Linked DNA regions of Homo sapiens: all the other regions are linked to region 3. Evidence: promoter capture Hi-C in 16 types of primary human blood cells and fetal thymus (Javierre and others, 2016). All regions are on one chromosome and are shown on one strand. The core of a region is centred on a gene start or on the middle of the fragment in contact, and the rest is flanking DNA. Distances in the headings are between cores, read along the strand shown.

What was found. Contacts are between HindIII fragments. The CHiCAGO score rates a contact against its expected background, and 5 or more counts as called.
Region 1: a fragment that was not itself captured here is called in contact with the fragment with the promoter of TMX1 in region 3 in 1 of 17 cell types (M2 macrophages); the score reaches 5.2 in M2 macrophages.
Region 2: a contact is called between a fragment that was not itself captured here and the fragment with the promoter of TMX1 in region 3, in 1 of 17 cell types (naive B cells). The highest score is 6.1, in naive B cells.

Annotation. Positions count from the first base shown.
Region 1 is chr14:51,783,802-51,786,509 of GRCh38, forward strand. All of the region lies in intron 1 of LOC101927598 (a long non-coding RNA gene), which reads left to right. Among named protein-coding and RNA genes, the nearest start is that of GNG2, 75 kb to the right of the region's middle. The HindIII fragment of the contact is 659 bases long and covers 1,077-1,735 here.
Region 2 is chr14:51,843,113-51,845,812 of GRCh38, forward strand. It overlaps a transcript of GNG2 not described here. Among named protein-coding and RNA genes, the nearest start is that of GNG2, 16 kb to the right of the region's middle. RefSeq lists enhancers at 1,075-1,214, 1,255-1,344, 1,365-1,464. The HindIII fragment of the contact is 4,692 bases long and covers 1-2,700 here.
Region 3 is chr14:51,238,856-51,241,722 of GRCh38, forward strand. TMX1 (thioredoxin related transmembrane protein 1) reads left to right here and starts at 1,392. Exons shown (of 8, transcript NM_030755.5): 1 at 1,392-1,589. The coding sequence starts at 1,438. RefSeq lists a silencer at 1,228-1,570 and an enhancer at 1,431-1,670. The HindIII fragment of the contact is 7,115 bases long and covers 1-2,074 here.

The DNA of each region.
Region 1 (2,708 bases), core at 156-2,655, 540 kb after region 3:
CACCAATTTAAAAATTCTCAAGTTTTGATTCTCATAGATCAAATCTTACTTTTGTTCAATTCTTTATTGTGTAAAGCCACAAAAAATGTGATCTCATGGCAAATTTACTCATTTGGAGAAGATGGACGGGGTGCTGTTTCCTCTGTAATTCTGATAGTTCCCAAGTGATTTCGTAATACATGAATCAGAGGACGTGGCTATGTCCTCTGTATTTAGACAGAGGAATTCATTTTTCTGATAAATCCCATCGTGTCCCCAAACAGAAAGTGGAATCAAAGACTATGGGATATTGGTGGTTGTAAGCAGAAACCCTAATGATCTACCATATATGCTTAGCTTGACTTCATTAACTTTTTGAAAATGAACCTGCTGGGAAGACAAATCTAATGTCATCCATTAAATAAGAAAAATAAAAATTAAATCATAAAAGTGAATGTGGCTGGCGTGAAAGCAAACAAAATGAAAAATGTTTTATTACACTTCCTTATTTCAAAGCAGCCTTTTAATTAAGATTTCCTCCAACAGCAAAACTAATTTGATAAGTTTATACAGCCAGCACATTTCAATTTACACTTTCAGAAAGTGACTCTTTTTCATTTATAAGGAATTTATGTACAATCTCCAGGAAGGAAATAAGGATAAAGGCAAAGGGGCACACCTCCAAGTGGGATGTGAAGATTCTTCCTGTGCAGGTGGAATAGAGTGAACAGTAACATTTTCCATTTCTTAGACTATATTTTATCCTGTCTGTTTTTCTCATTCCTAGCTATTAGGCTGATGCAAATGTAATTGTGGTTTTTGCATTGTTGAAATTTGACATTTGGTATTGGAATACATTCTTAAATGTGGTTATGTTATACATCATTTTAATGTGCATTTCTTGCTTTATGTTTTTTTCCTAATGACTAATTACTGTTTGAGAAATATTGTTGGAGGCATCAGGCTAGCTCTGGATTTTATCCCTCCTTGGAGTTGTTGATGGCAGTAGGGTTCTGAATACCATTAGCATTTTCAGTTGCCAGTTTCCATGAAAATGGGGCAGCATGAGTTTTATAACTGCTCAAAATATCAATTCAAGCTTTATCTTGATAGCCAGTGATCACTAGAACATATAGTACTGACCCAGCTTCTCGGATCTCTTAGAAGTGACTTAATTACACAATTGAACAGCTGCTAGAATCAGCCAAAGACACAGGGGGAAAAAACAGTTAAAGGAGAAACAAGACAAGATTAATTTCTGGTCTAACTCATTAAGACCTCCTGCTGTCATCTTTTGCCAAACTACTGAGCCTTCAATTTTTTAGAAAATGATCACATACCTCCAGCTACTCTTATTAGTTCTCTTGATTTTGCAGAAATCACAACAACCCCAGAAGTCATTAAAAGCACCCAGAGCATATAATTTGTTCAAAATGGGAAAAGCCTTCCCAAAGAGACAGGACTGGTCCACAGGGCTTTTGCCCTTCTCTCTGATGGTGTTCCCAAATACCTCTTGCACTCTTTCCATTCTTCCCTCCTCCTTCTCCTACTTGCTCTTCTCTCCTCTTTCCATCTTTCTCCCTATCCTTGTCCCCCTCTGGCTGCCATGTTGAGGCTAAAGATGGTGTATCAGGGACATAGATCTACAGCTACTTTCAATGTTCTTATTGAGCAATCTGTATCCATTATCTCACTTAATCCTTACAATAACCTTGAGACAAGGTATTTCTCCCCCTTATACAGGTATAGGAATTGAAGCTTAGTGAGGCTATGTAATTTACCTAAGGTCATTGTACTGGTTATTAAGCCATTTTCTTTCCGTTTCAAACCTGCCCTTTTGTACTCTGCTTTGTGATGCCGAGGTGGGGATTCTGCAAACCACATTTCTGTATGGTCAGCTGGCTGGTGTTTTGTTGGCATGCCAGAAGGACAGTGAGGCTGGATGAGGGAGAGGAGACTTGCTCCCTCCTATTTGCCTCCTGTTTCTGCCTGCATCATCTCAATAATGGTTTTTCACCTCAGCAACAGCCGTTTTCTTTCTTTTTAAACTTTTATGTTTGAGGGTACATGTGCAGGTTTGTTATATAGGTAAACTCATGTTAGAGGGCTTGTTGTACAGATTATTTCATTATCCAGGTACTAAACCTAGTATGCAATAGTTCCTTTATCTGCTCTTCTCCATCCTCCCACCTTCTACCCTCAAGGAAGCCCCAGTATCTGTTGTTCTCTTCTTTGTGTCCATGAGTACTCATCATTTAGCTCCCACTTATAAGGGAGAACATGTGGTATTTGGTTTTGTATTACTGCATTAGTTTCCTAAGGAAATTAATCCATCCATGTTCCTGCAAAAGATGTGATCTCATTATTTTTTAAGGCGGCATAGTATTCCATTGTGTATATGTACTACATTTTCTTTATCCAATCAGCAATCATTTTCTACCCTCCTGGAATGAACTCCTCAGAAATACCAGCACCAGTCCACTGGCACCTACTCCCCAGAAATCCAGGTCCCAATTATGAAGGGTTTCTACTCCAAGCCTCTAGGTTCTAATAACTTCATCCTCTTCTCTTTCCCCTTGCCTTTGTTGGAAACAAGTGCTCGGCACCACAAAGAAGAACCAGCACTCAGAGTTTCTCAGCAAGGCAACTTTACTTCTGCAGAAGGGTGCTGCTTACATCCATCACAATTGCAAGAGCACACCGAACAAAGGAGAGAAGGGATTTGTATC
Region 2 (2,700 bases), core at 150-2,649, 600 kb after region 3:
TTTCAGGTGTTTTTAATCAATGCTCTCCTTTCCGTAAATCATAGGAAAGGTCTTCAGGGGAGAGGGAAGAAATGATGCTTCTATATTAATGCAAATATACACTTGTTGAAGGGCTGGATGAAGGCACAAACATCTACTTGGTTGTCTTACTCTTGGAATTAATGCTGACCTCCTCTTTCTTGCTCTTCTCTCTCTCTTACCTCCTCACAGACATACCCAGACACCTGACTGCCAACTGCTATAGAAACCCCTCATATAGAACAATGAGAACACATGGACACAGGGATGGGAGCATCACACACTGGGGCCTGTCGGGGGTGAGGGGAGGGAGAGCATTAGGACAAACACTTGATGCATGTAGGGCTTAAAACCTGGATGACAGGTTGGTGGGTGCAGCAAACCACATGGCATATGTATACCTATGTAACCTGCACGATCTGCACACGCATCCCAGAACTTAAAGTTAAAAAAAAAAAAAACTCAAATATTTTGAGTGTGTCCACTCTGCTCCTGCCCTCAACCCTACTTTCTTTCAATGCCTATCCCACACTGTTATGGGGCAGTCTTTCCAACATGCAAACCCAGTCACATCAGTCCTCTTGACTAACAGTTTTAATGGTTCCTCATGTTTCCATTTTGATTGAATTGCCATGGAAGGTATTTCCTCAATTAACCCCAGCCCACCTCTTCAGTCCACCCCACCCACACAGCCTGGCCTTTTGGTCCCACTATGCCAAGCTATTCATGGCTCACAGAATAAGCCATGCTCTGCCCCAACTCATGCTTCCAAGCAGCCAGTGGCCTCAGCCTGCAAGGCCCCCTTTCTCCTCCCCACCCCTTGGTCACCACCTTGGTTTCCACCGTGGCTCTAAAGACTCTTCTGGTGACTCAGGCAAAGGAAATGTATCTCCTTTCTGTGCATCTCCTGGCTGTGTGTTCTCTTCTCAGTTCGCTCTGCTCCTTCCTACTTTGTTCTCGTGGCTGTCCCAGATATTCAACCAGTTTGATTGAAGACATTCAATTTGTTGAGGCAGAAACATGGAGCAGTTTTATCTTGCAAATGGCTGCTACCAGCTGTGTGTTCCTGTCACTGGCTCTCCTTTCCCTCTAGGGACCCAGTCCCCTTAACAATATTTGATTCTCTGTCATAACTCATAAGTCGTCACTTGTGTTTATTAAAACAATCTGGTCTGGTTTCCCATCTCATATATGGTTCAAACTCTCTCTCCCCAGGGTAAGCTGGACTAGGCTGGGTAGGGGGCAGATCTTATGTCTGAGACTGTCCCCTTCTGACTCATGATGTCACAGTGAAGAGGAGGAGGAGTTTCTCTAAGTCATTGTTTTCTTCATTGGCTTCAGTGGAGCTGAAGTTGCTGGTGACTCTGCTGTTGTTGACAGCCCTGTGTGTGTGTGTGTGGGTGGAGAGGAGTGTTATATAAAGAGTTAATATGGTCAGATGGAAGCCCCAAAACCTCCACGGAAGAGGACTCAGTTCCAAGAAGGTCCCCTGAGCATTGGTGGTTCCTTCCCGGGAGAACCTACCATAGTTTCCAGCTGACTCCCAGCTGGAGGCACCACACCATGGCCTTGGTATCTGTTCCTCTTTACCTCCTGCCACAATTTCTTTTTTTGAGGCAGAGTCTCACACTGTCACCCAGGCTGTAGTGCAATGGCATGATCTTGGCTCACTGCAACCTCTGCCTCCCAGGTTCAAGTGATTCTCTTGCCTCAGCCTCCTGAGTAGCTGGGATTACAGGCGCACGCCACCAGGCCCAGCTAATTTTTTGTATTTTTAGTAGGGATGGGGTTTCACCATGTTGGGCAGGCTGGTCTCAAACTCTTGACCTCGTGATCCTTCCACCTCGGCCTCCCAAAGTGCTGGGATTACAGGCGTTAGCCACCATGCCCAGCCCTCCTGCCACAATTTTTATTGAAACAACTTGGTGCTCTTGCTTTGATTTAAAATAGATAAAAAACACTGAATTTATTGTGAATTGTTTTTTTTCTCTTGGCTCTCTTAAAAATCTGTTTCTCTATGGGCTAAATTAGTGTATCATATGGGCCAAATCACTTTTTAAAAATAGGTAATTTTCAATCATAAATAAAGGCTGGTGCAGTGGCTCATGCCAGCACTTTGGGAGACCAAGGCAGGTGGATTGCTTGAGCCCAGGAGTTTGAGACCAACCCGAGCAACACGGCGAAGCCCTATATCTACAAAAAAATACCAAAATTAGTCAGGCATGGTGGTGCGCATCTGTGTGGTCCCAGTTACTCAGGAGGCTGAGGTGGGAGGATTGACTGAACCCAGGAGGTCAAGGCTGCAGTGAGCTGAGATCATACCACTGCACTCCAACCTGGGTGACAGTGAGACCTGTCTCAATAAATAAATAAATATCCATGGATCTTTAAACTATAATTAGATCTTAGAGGCAATCTTGCCCAGCATTTCTCAAAGTATGCTCTGAAGAACTACGAGAGATTCTGTGAAGGCAGTACTCAGTGGCCAAATACGTTTGGGAAATGCCATTCTTATTCTGTAGAACTCCCTCTCAGAGAGTCATCCCAGATGTCAGAATATCAAAAGCCCCGAGAAGTCCCATGGTAAATAAACCTGGTCAATGTTCTTGAACCTAAGATTTTGCAAAATGATTTGAGCTCTGAATTCCCCATCTGCACTTTTTACCCTGCGTGCCACCTATT
Region 3 (2,867 bases), core at 142-2,641:
GATGGGGGGCGGGGGGCAGTAAAGCATCCTGGAGATGCCGATGTCCGGAAGTAAAGGAGGACCAGCCAAGAAGTTTGAGAAGAATCAGCTACTGTAGGACAGAAAAAAAAGCGAGCTGCCCAGACAGCAAGATAGTAAAGTGTTTCAAGGGTGTGGTAGAATGGGGCTAGGAGTCATGCTAGATGCATTGAGAAGAAACAATTGGGATTTATCTTGCTGGTCGCTGGTGTCCTTGAGAGGGCTATTCAGTGGAGGGGTGGGGAAGGGGACTAATTGGGGTTAATTAAGTTGAAAAGGTGAGGTAAGATAGTGGCAACTATTTCCTTGAGACTTAGTCTCTCTCTATAGCCCAGATTGGAGTGCAGTGGAATGATCTCGGTTCACTGCAACCTCCGCCTCCCGGGTTCAAGCGATTCTCCTGCCTCAGCCTCCTGAGTAGCTGGGACTACAGGCGCCTGCCACCACGCCTGGCTAATTTTTGTATTTTTAGTAGAGACGGGGTTTCACTATGTTGGTCAGGCTGGTCACAAACTCCTGACCTCAAGTGATCCGCCTGCCTTGGCCTCCCTGTTTTGCTAGGATTACAGGCGTGAGCCACCGCACCTGCAACTATTTTCATTTGACTGATGGGGCAGTGCACATTTTGGTTTGCATTTGTATTTACGAATGTTTGAGAGAAAAAACTCAAATATCTTACAAGCCTATGTGTCTGGTTCCATTTTGAAGTACTGACCTAGGATCTCTGTACCTACTGAATTTTTTTTGAGAGATAACATACACCTGAAAGTGCATAAAGTGCACTGTCTTAAAATGTACAGCTTGATCCTTCTTTAAAAAAAATCATATACGTACGCCCATGTAACTACTGTTCATATCTAGATGTTGAACACCTCCAACACATCCAACATAACCATAATGTTCCTCTGCACCTTCCCTGTCTATAATCTCTCAGAAGTAAACCAATATTCCGACTCCTATAAAATCCATTAGCTTTACTACATGTTTCAAAGAAAACAAATGAGAACTCTGAAGGACATTTAATTGGAAAACTGCTTTAGCACATTATAAACTTACCAATTTGCTTGTAAACGCTAACCATTTGGCGCCAAAATCCTGGGAGGGTCTTTTAAACCGTTCTTCCTCAAAGCACCGCCCCACTTTTTACACCACGCCTCCTTTTGCTCTGTTCCTTCCCCCACAATATTGGGACACCCTAGGCGGTAGAAGCAGCCGCTTTTCTGTCATGCGCATTGCGGAGAGTCGTTCTTCCCTCTTTCCCGACTTCACCACTCACTGGGATCAGACCCCTGTCATGCGCATTGAGAGTCCTCTAGACAGGCGCTCCTCGCAGCACCGTAGTGCGCTTGCGCTGAGCAGCCCGCGAGGGCGGAAGTGGGAGCTGCGACCGCGCTCCCTGTGAGGTGGGCAAGCGGCGAAATGGCGCCCTCCGGGAGTCTTGCAGTTCCCCTGGCAGTCCTGGTGCTGTTGCTTTGGGGTGCTCCCTGGACGCACGGGCGGCGGAGCAACGTTCGCGTCATCACGGACGAGAACTGGAGAGAACTGCTGGAAGGAGACTGGATGATAGAATTGTGAGTGCGGGGCGGCCAGGGTCCTACGTCCGTGCCTGGACACACGACTTCACCCCGCACGTTCCTCGTGCGGGTCGCAGGCTCCCCAGGACTGCGCCTCCGAGTTGCGGAGCGAGCGTCCCCGACTTCTGCAGCTCCCCAAACTCTTGGGATCTGCCGCCAGCTTGGTCCCACCCCCTCGTCTCTTACCCGTGAATGTTAAGTTTCTTCTGGGGTGCACCCTCGTTTCGTTTCTTGGGTTGTGGTGCGCCCAAAGGGTTAGTGCCAATGCGAATTCTGACATTTTTCATGACTTTGAGGATGCGACTGGGGCGCGGGGAGGGAGGTGTCCGACTCGTGTCTAAGTAGTTAAAGTGATTCTTCACAGACTTCTACACTTATTTTCACCACATTTTACATAAGAGAATATTGAGCAAAATTTCTCCTCTCGTTTTGTCTGTCCTTAAAAGATAGTCTCTTTATGGTGTTGGAATTTGGCGCTTTTAAGCTTTTTTTAATGGATTGGGTACGTTTCTTTTTTATTGTAAATACTGAGTCAATTCAAGTTGGGTTATTTTTAAGTTTTCGTTTTCTCTTTTTGCCTCCTCTTTTGCTTTCTCTTTTTTTCACTCCTCATCTCATTTTTCCTTTGGGTGTCTTTGTAGTGTAGAGAATACCTTGGGTTGTGACTCCTAGGTCTTTGTAAATGGTATTACATTAAAAGATAATGTATTAATGTATACACTCTCAAGAGCGCCAGGTCATCATTTATTGCTCGAACGAAATCATGTATTTTGTGTGGTGATTTCAATTTAATAATATCTGTTCTGCCGCGGTGGGAAATAAAGTATCTGTCTTTGCTTTAGATGCTAAGTCGTTGTTGATGGTGGTATTATACATATTAGCAGTATTTACTGATAATAGTAAAAGCATAATTATTAACAGTGTACTGGACACCACTAAGCACCTTTACACGAATACCATATTTAATTCCCTACAAATTCTCTATGACAGGTGTTTTTCACGTTTTACAAATGAGTAACAAGATACCTAAATACTTTAGTTAACCTATGCAGATATTGCTGTGCTGGCTTTCTTTGGGTCTTCAGAGTAGGCATACAATAATTGTTGTTAGAACACCTTCTTCTTTAAAAAGGTTCAGCTGGAAGTGGCGTACGCTACCCAGGAGATTGAGGTATGAGGATGACTTGAGCCCAGGGGTTCAAGAGATCCTGGGCAACTAGCAAAATAAATAAGTAAATAAATAAAAATGAAAAGACAACAGGGTTCAGGTGAGTG